Regions from separate parts of the Homo sapiens genome. Here region 1 is linked to region 2. Evidence: promoter capture Hi-C in human tissues and cell types (Jung and others, 2019). All regions are on one chromosome and are shown on one strand. The core of a region is centred on a gene start or on the middle of the fragment in contact, and the rest is flanking DNA. Distances in the headings are between cores, read along the strand shown.

Region 1 (3,263 bases), core at 703-3,202, 170 kb after region 2:
GTGTTCACACCTAACAAGAACACCACGGTGCATGTGCAGGGTGATGTAGTGGGAGCCGGTGCTGCCGTTGGACTCCCAGTAGGTCTTGGGGTTGTGGTCCGTCAGCTTGCTGGCTCGGTGCGGGTTGGAGGACACCTCCACCTTCTCCCAGCACTTGTCCTCCTTCACTTCCACACTGGAGCCTGGGGGCAAGTGGGAAGGGGTGGCAGTCACAGCTAGGTTAGTTGAGAGGAAAAAGGAAAAGGTCTAAGGAGCAGGAAGGGAAGGGGAGAACAGACACTGGATGGGAGCCAGGAGAAAGCAGATGAGGGCACTAACCCTGGCAGAGATGCCTGAGGAACACATCAAAGAAGGGGATATTGATGGGTTGGTGGGTTCGTCTGTGGTCTTCGATCTGGCCCAGCACCATCTGCAGCCGGAACATCAGGGAGAATGAGGAAGAGGAGAGGGAGGAACACAGAGAAATGCCCAGAAACAGGTAGAGAGAAAAAGTCAAGGGTCAACGGTATACTCAACTCCTCTCTCCCCACATTTTGACAGAACCATGTGGAGTCAAGGTTAGGAAACAAGTGCCCCAGATTTGCTACAACCTGTGCCAAACAGGGATACCAAAGAGGAACACAGTGAATCCCCTTCTCCTGCTTCTGACTTGCATTCTCTCAGCTGCATACCCACAGCCGCTCCTCACCTGAATGCAGCCGGCCAGGATGCTGGAGGTGAGGTTGCTATAGAGCTGTGCGTACTTCTCACACTCTGTCACCAGGTCCCGAAGCTCACAGCCCAGCAGCAGCTGAGCTGAGTGCTTGTCCAGGACTTTGGAGAGGATCTCTTTTGCTCCCAGGCAGCAGAGCACCACAGCATAGTCCTTATGCATCGAGGCCAGGCGATGTAGGAAGCAGGTCAGCTCCTGAACAATCTGAGCCCAGAGCCACATAGATTAATTTACAGGAAACAAGAGGTAGGACATGTAAGGATTGAGGAGAGGGTTCAGTAAAGGAAGTGTCGTGGCTGAGATTGTGGAGACATGCCAACGCCCAGGGAAACAAGAGTACCAAATTCAGGGTGGAGTAAAATAGAGGAGTGCTGGGACTCCAGAGTGAGTTGGCAGAACAGAGCTTGGGCACAGCTTTCCAGGCTGCTTCCTGCCCAGGCCAAGCTATGTTAACCCTGGTGCCTGAGCCTTGCTCTCCAATGCACAAACCCGGAAGGGAGGACAGCTGTCTGGATTGGTGAATGTGGGCTTCTCCTTAGTCCAGAATCTAAACTCCAAATCTAAAATCATCTAAAAGGTTTATACTTCAAAGATTCCAGTTCTGGAGATTCTTAGATTACATTACCCTTCCTCCTCCTACACCCATCCCAGTGCCCCAAGATCCATTCAGAAAGGCTCTGCTGTGCCCTCCAGAGCCTCACAAGGAGTTGGTGCCCCAGATGCTGCCCTTCCCTCTCTTCTCCTTGCCAGGGTTCTGGTACCTCGGAGTCACTGCTAGGGCCACTCAGGCAGTTGAGGCAGGGCTCCAAGACCTCGTGCCAGGGGAGGACCATTGCCTCAGGGAAATCCAGCAGTCGGGTTATGACCCTGGTGAGGGGGTAGAAACGAGTGAAGTCAGGCCAGGCACAGTGGCTCATGCCTGTAATCCCAGCACTTTGGGAGGCCGAAGTGGGCGGATCACCTGAGGTCGGGAGTTCGAGACCAGCCTGACCAAAATGGAGAAACCCCATCTCTACTAAAAATACAAAATTAGCTGGGCATGGTGGCACATGCCTGCAATCCCAGCTACTCGGGAGGCTGAGGCAGGAGAACCACTTGAACCTGGGAGGTAGAGGTTGCAGTGAGCTGAGATCGTGCCATTGCACTCCAGCCTGGGCAACAAGAGTGAAACTCCAACTCAAAAAAAAAAAAAAGAAAACAGAAAAGAAACAAGTGAAGTCCCTGAAGTCTGCCAGTTTCCCTCGTCCCAATGCATGGTGCCTCAACAGGCCCCTCACCTCAGCACAGACAGCAGCAGAGTCTTGTTGGGCCCCGGAGCATCCAGAGTCCGCAGCAACAGGAGGAAAGGCTGGGTCTCCTGCTGGAGGCGCTTGAGGAGGGGCCTCACGGCACCTCCGGGGCTGCCCTCACGGCACAGCACACGCTCCAAGTCCAGGAGTAGTTCTGCAGATGGGCCCCCAACCAGGGATCGAATCAGTAGCTCAGGGGACCCATCCTGACCCTGGATGATGGGGGTCTCTAGTGCTGCAGCCAGACACACCAGAGGGAAAAATGTGGATGAAGAGTCTTACCAGTTTGTCAAACTGAGAACTGGGAAGGTCCAGAAAATCACCCCAAAATTTTCCTTCTATATTGAGGATGTCTATAGTTTTTAACCAAACTATGAGGGGTTTTCTTTCCTGACCCCAAATACAAACCTAATCAGATTTGAAAAAAAAACCTAGTATAGCAAACACTGTCGAGTTAAACACAAGACATTTTAAATCTCTTATAGTCCTATTATTAAATGTTAGTTATAGTAAATATTAACTATGATGATTATATCCCTGTACTACCTGCATGGTGGCTTTAGGTACACAGACTAAAAGATACATACATATTTCCTATTTTGTAGGAATACACAGAGCGCTGTCACCCAGGCTGGAGTGCAGTGGCATGATCTTGGCTCACTGTGACCTCCAACTCCTGGGCTCAAGTGATTCTCCTGCCTCAGCCTCCCAAGTAGCTGGGATTACAAGCACCTACCACCGTGCCCGGCTAATTTTTGTATTTTTAGTAAAGATGCGGTTTCACCATGTTGGCCGGGCTGGTCTCAAACTGCTGACCTCAAGTGATCTGCCTGCCTCAGCCTCCCAAAGTGCTGGGATTAAAGGCATGAGCTATTGCACCTGGCCACGTATTTCCTATTTCAATATCCCTCCACACTTCTAGGTTTTCACTTGTTTTTCAATCACAAAGGGTTTCTTCCCCAGTATCAATATCTAATGTTTCCAGGCACAAGTGTTCTGTACCATAAATTATAATTTCTCTTAAGAAGGCCTCCCTATTCTGTGAAGAGAAAGTTAAGCTTAGGCCAGGCACAGTGGCTCACGCCTCTAATCCCAGCACTTTGGGAGGCCAAGGCGGTCAGATCACGAGGTCAGGAGTTCAAAACCGGCCTGACCAACATGGTGAAACCCTGTCTCTACTAAATATACAAAAATTAGCTGGGTGTGGTGGTGCGCACCTGTAATCCCAGCTACTCAGGAGGCTGAGGCAGGAGAATTCCTTG
Region 2 (2,886 bases), core at 294-2,793:
ATTATTTTTTTCATTAAAATGTTATTGGTTTCTTATTTTATATAAATTATATAAAATGTGAAGCTGGGTAAAAGTAGTCAACTAGTAAAAATTTTATACATTTTTACTGAGTATATGCCATTATAAGAACGTATGGAAATGGATATATATATATATGGATGTATTTTTTGAGAGAGGGTCTCACTCTGTCACCCAGGCTGGAGTGCAGTGGCATGATCACAGCTCACCGCAGCCTCAACCTCCCGAGTAGCTGGGGTACAGGAACGTGCCACCACACTCGGCAAATTTTTTTTTTTTTTTTTTAGAAATGGAGGTCCTTCTACGTTGCCCAGGCTGGTCTCGAACTCTCAGGCTCAAGCAATCCTCCTGCCCCGGCCTCCCAAAATGGTGGGATTATAGGCGTGACCCTTTGCGCCTGGCCCACTTTTGTATTTAGGATGCAGGGCCCTGAGATTGGCATCTAGGAAAATTCTGGACTTAGGCCAGGGGAGGGGGCATGCCTGGATCTCTTACAAAAACTTGCCACGCCTCCAGTTGGTCATGATGTGGGCCCCTGGTAATGAAGGACCTCCACCATGACCACAAGTACTTTAGTCAGAAAACAGCTCGAAAACGTGTGAAGAGAGTCCACCAAACAGGCTTCGTGTGAGCAACAAGGCTGTTTATCTTACCTGGGTGCAGGCGGGTTGAGTCCGAAAAAGGAGTCAGCAGAGGGTGGTGGAATTATCATTAGTTCTTATAGGTTTGGGATAGGTGTACAAAGTACATTCTTAAGGGCGGGGGAGAATATTACAAAGCACCTACTTAAGGGCAAGGGGGAGAATATATCCTGTCAGTTAGGGTGGGGCAGGAACAAATCACAATGGTGGAATGTCATCAGTTAAGGCTATTTTCACTTCTTTTGTGGCTCTTCAGTTGCCTCAGGCCATCTGGATGTATACGTGCAGGTCATAGGGGATATGATGGCTTAGCTTGGGCTCAGAGGCCTGACAACGTCTATTTTGGGTTTGATTCTGGCCCACCACCTCCACCTCGTACTTTCCTATCCTCAATTTCAACCTCTAGAAATTAGGCAAACTGGAAAGTAAACTGATGCGGGTCGTGTTGCTTCAGCTGGGGACAGGATTTCGGTGGGCGCTCCTGCCGGGGTCCGTAACCTCCCACACAGCTAACGTTTACAGGCCCGTTTATATTATCACGAATGGTTTTCAACCATTTCGTGTCCATCCCTAAATTAAGAGGCTTGAGGGGCGGCACGAAAGAGCGAAGACACCTCCGCACGGTCTCCAAACCCCTAAGTCCAGAGGCCTGGAGCATCCCCGGAAAACCAGATCCCTCTCCAGAGAAGCCCTTCCTTCCGCTCCGCCCACCCCGCGCGGAGGCCACAGGGGTCACGTGGCGGCCGCGGGAGGGGGAAGTGGGCGGCTCTGCGGCCGCCATCTTGAGGATTCGGAGGCGGGGCGTGCAGAGCTCAGGGCGCGCGCTTCGCTTCCCCTCCCCTCGCCCAGCCTCGCGCCGGCGTCTGTGCTCCTCCCCACTTTTCTTGGTTCCTGCGGCCGCTCCCTGAGTGGAGGAGCGGGGAACCCCGGAGGCGGGGGGGGGTGTGTCGGACGCGTGCTCGCGCCCTCCAACCGCCAGCCGCGGGGGCGCGCTCGGCCGGGCCCCCGGGGCGACGCGGGGCCGAGGGGAGGGGGCTGCTCCCGCGGCTGAGGCGGCGCGCAGCGGCCGAGGTGGCGGCGGCTGCAGCTGCGGCGGCGCGCTCCGAGCCTGCGTCTAGGGCGCCCCCGGGTCAGAGCTGTCGCCGTGGCCGCCGCTGCAAGAACCATGTACCGCAGCAGCGCTCGCTCCTCCGTCTCTTCCCACCGGCCTAAAGACGACGGCGGGGGCGGCCCGCGCAGCGGCCGCAGCTCTGGCTCCTCCTCAGGCCCGGCTCGCCGCAGCTCACCGCCGCCTCCGCCCTCCGGCTCCTCGTCGCGGACCCCGGCTCGCCGACCCCGCTCGCCCTCAGGGCACCGCGGCCGCCGGGCCTCGCCGTCCCCGCCACGGGGTCGTCGCGTCTCCCCGTCCCCGCCTCGGGCCCGTCGCGGCTCCCCGTCGCCACCGCGGGGCCGACGACTCTTCCCGCCGGGCCCGGCCGGCTTCAGAGGCAGCAGCCGGGGGGAGTCCCGCGCCGACTATGCCCGGGACGGCCGCGGAGACCATCCAGGCGACAGCGGCAGCCGGGTAATCCCACCCCTCGTCCAGGACTCCCTCCATCCCCCAGTCCCCTCCCCCGGAATTCCCGTTTCCAGAAACGCCCGGGGCCTCCAGACCAGGGTCCTAAGCGCGAAGCCTCCGGCCAACTCCCTCGGGGATGCCGAGCCTGGAGGCTTCTGTCAGACCCGGGAGCGTTGACACAATAACGGACTCGGGAGCGCACGGGCGTCTCGTCGGGAGTGCGCGCTCCGTTCCTTAGGAATAGGCTGTTTCTCTCATGCCGGGTGAGGTGTGGAAAGTTTGCCAAGGCGAGGGGCATTTCGTCCAAACCGTGTGTCTTGGTACTTTTTGTAGAGTTGATGTGTCCTCGGGGTTCCGTACTTTTCATCCCCTTACACCTGAGCTGCCTTCCTGGATCTTAGGGGAAAAAGCCGAAATGTCCGTTTTTGTGGCGAGTTAGGGACGCTTGAACCCTACCAGGCTTTACGTCTAGAGTGTAAACTGTTAGCTTAAATGAATTGGAGCTGCTGCTTCGGAATGAAGTGTGCAGGACCACAGTCACTGCCATAGCCACTACCTCTTATCGAGTTCTATGTCAGGAATTATGCCTAGCCTTTCACTTTGCACATTATTTTAACCCTCACAAGTCTTTGAAGTGAGGCAGTTAATACTATTCCTTGTTGTACAGCC

The links. Contacts are between HindIII fragments. The study calls those that stand out against the background at their distance.
Region 1: a contact is called between a fragment that was not itself captured here and the fragment with the promoter of ZNF318 in region 2, in 3 of the 25 tissues and cell types used here (H1 embryonic stem cells, liver and mesenchymal stem cells).

Annotation. Positions count from the first base shown.
Region 1 is chr6:43,197,582-43,200,844 of GRCh38, reverse strand. It overlaps CUL9 (cullin 9), which reads right to left. Exons shown (of 41, transcript NM_015089.4): 12 at 1,990-2,236; 13 at 1,474-1,579; 14 at 689-916; 15 at 319-409; 16 at 11-182. Among named protein-coding and RNA genes, the nearest start is that of CUL9, 17 kb to the right of the region's middle. The HindIII fragment of the contact is 5,147 bases long and covers 1-3,263 here.
Region 2 is chr6:43,368,304-43,371,189 of GRCh38, reverse strand. ZNF318 (zinc finger protein 318) reads left to right here and starts at 1,543. Exons shown (of 10, transcript NM_014345.3): 1 at 1,543-2,223. The coding sequence starts at 1,825. It overlaps LOC124901227 (atherin-like), which reads right to left and starts at 1,826. Exons shown (of 2, transcript XM_047419609.1): 1 at 1,803-1,826; 2 at 1-1,767. The coding sequence starts at 1,826. The coding sequence ends at 1,069. RefSeq lists silencers at 1,290-1,389, 1,580-1,779, 1,870-2,059, 2,070-2,139. The HindIII fragment of the contact is 7,376 bases long and covers 1-2,886 here.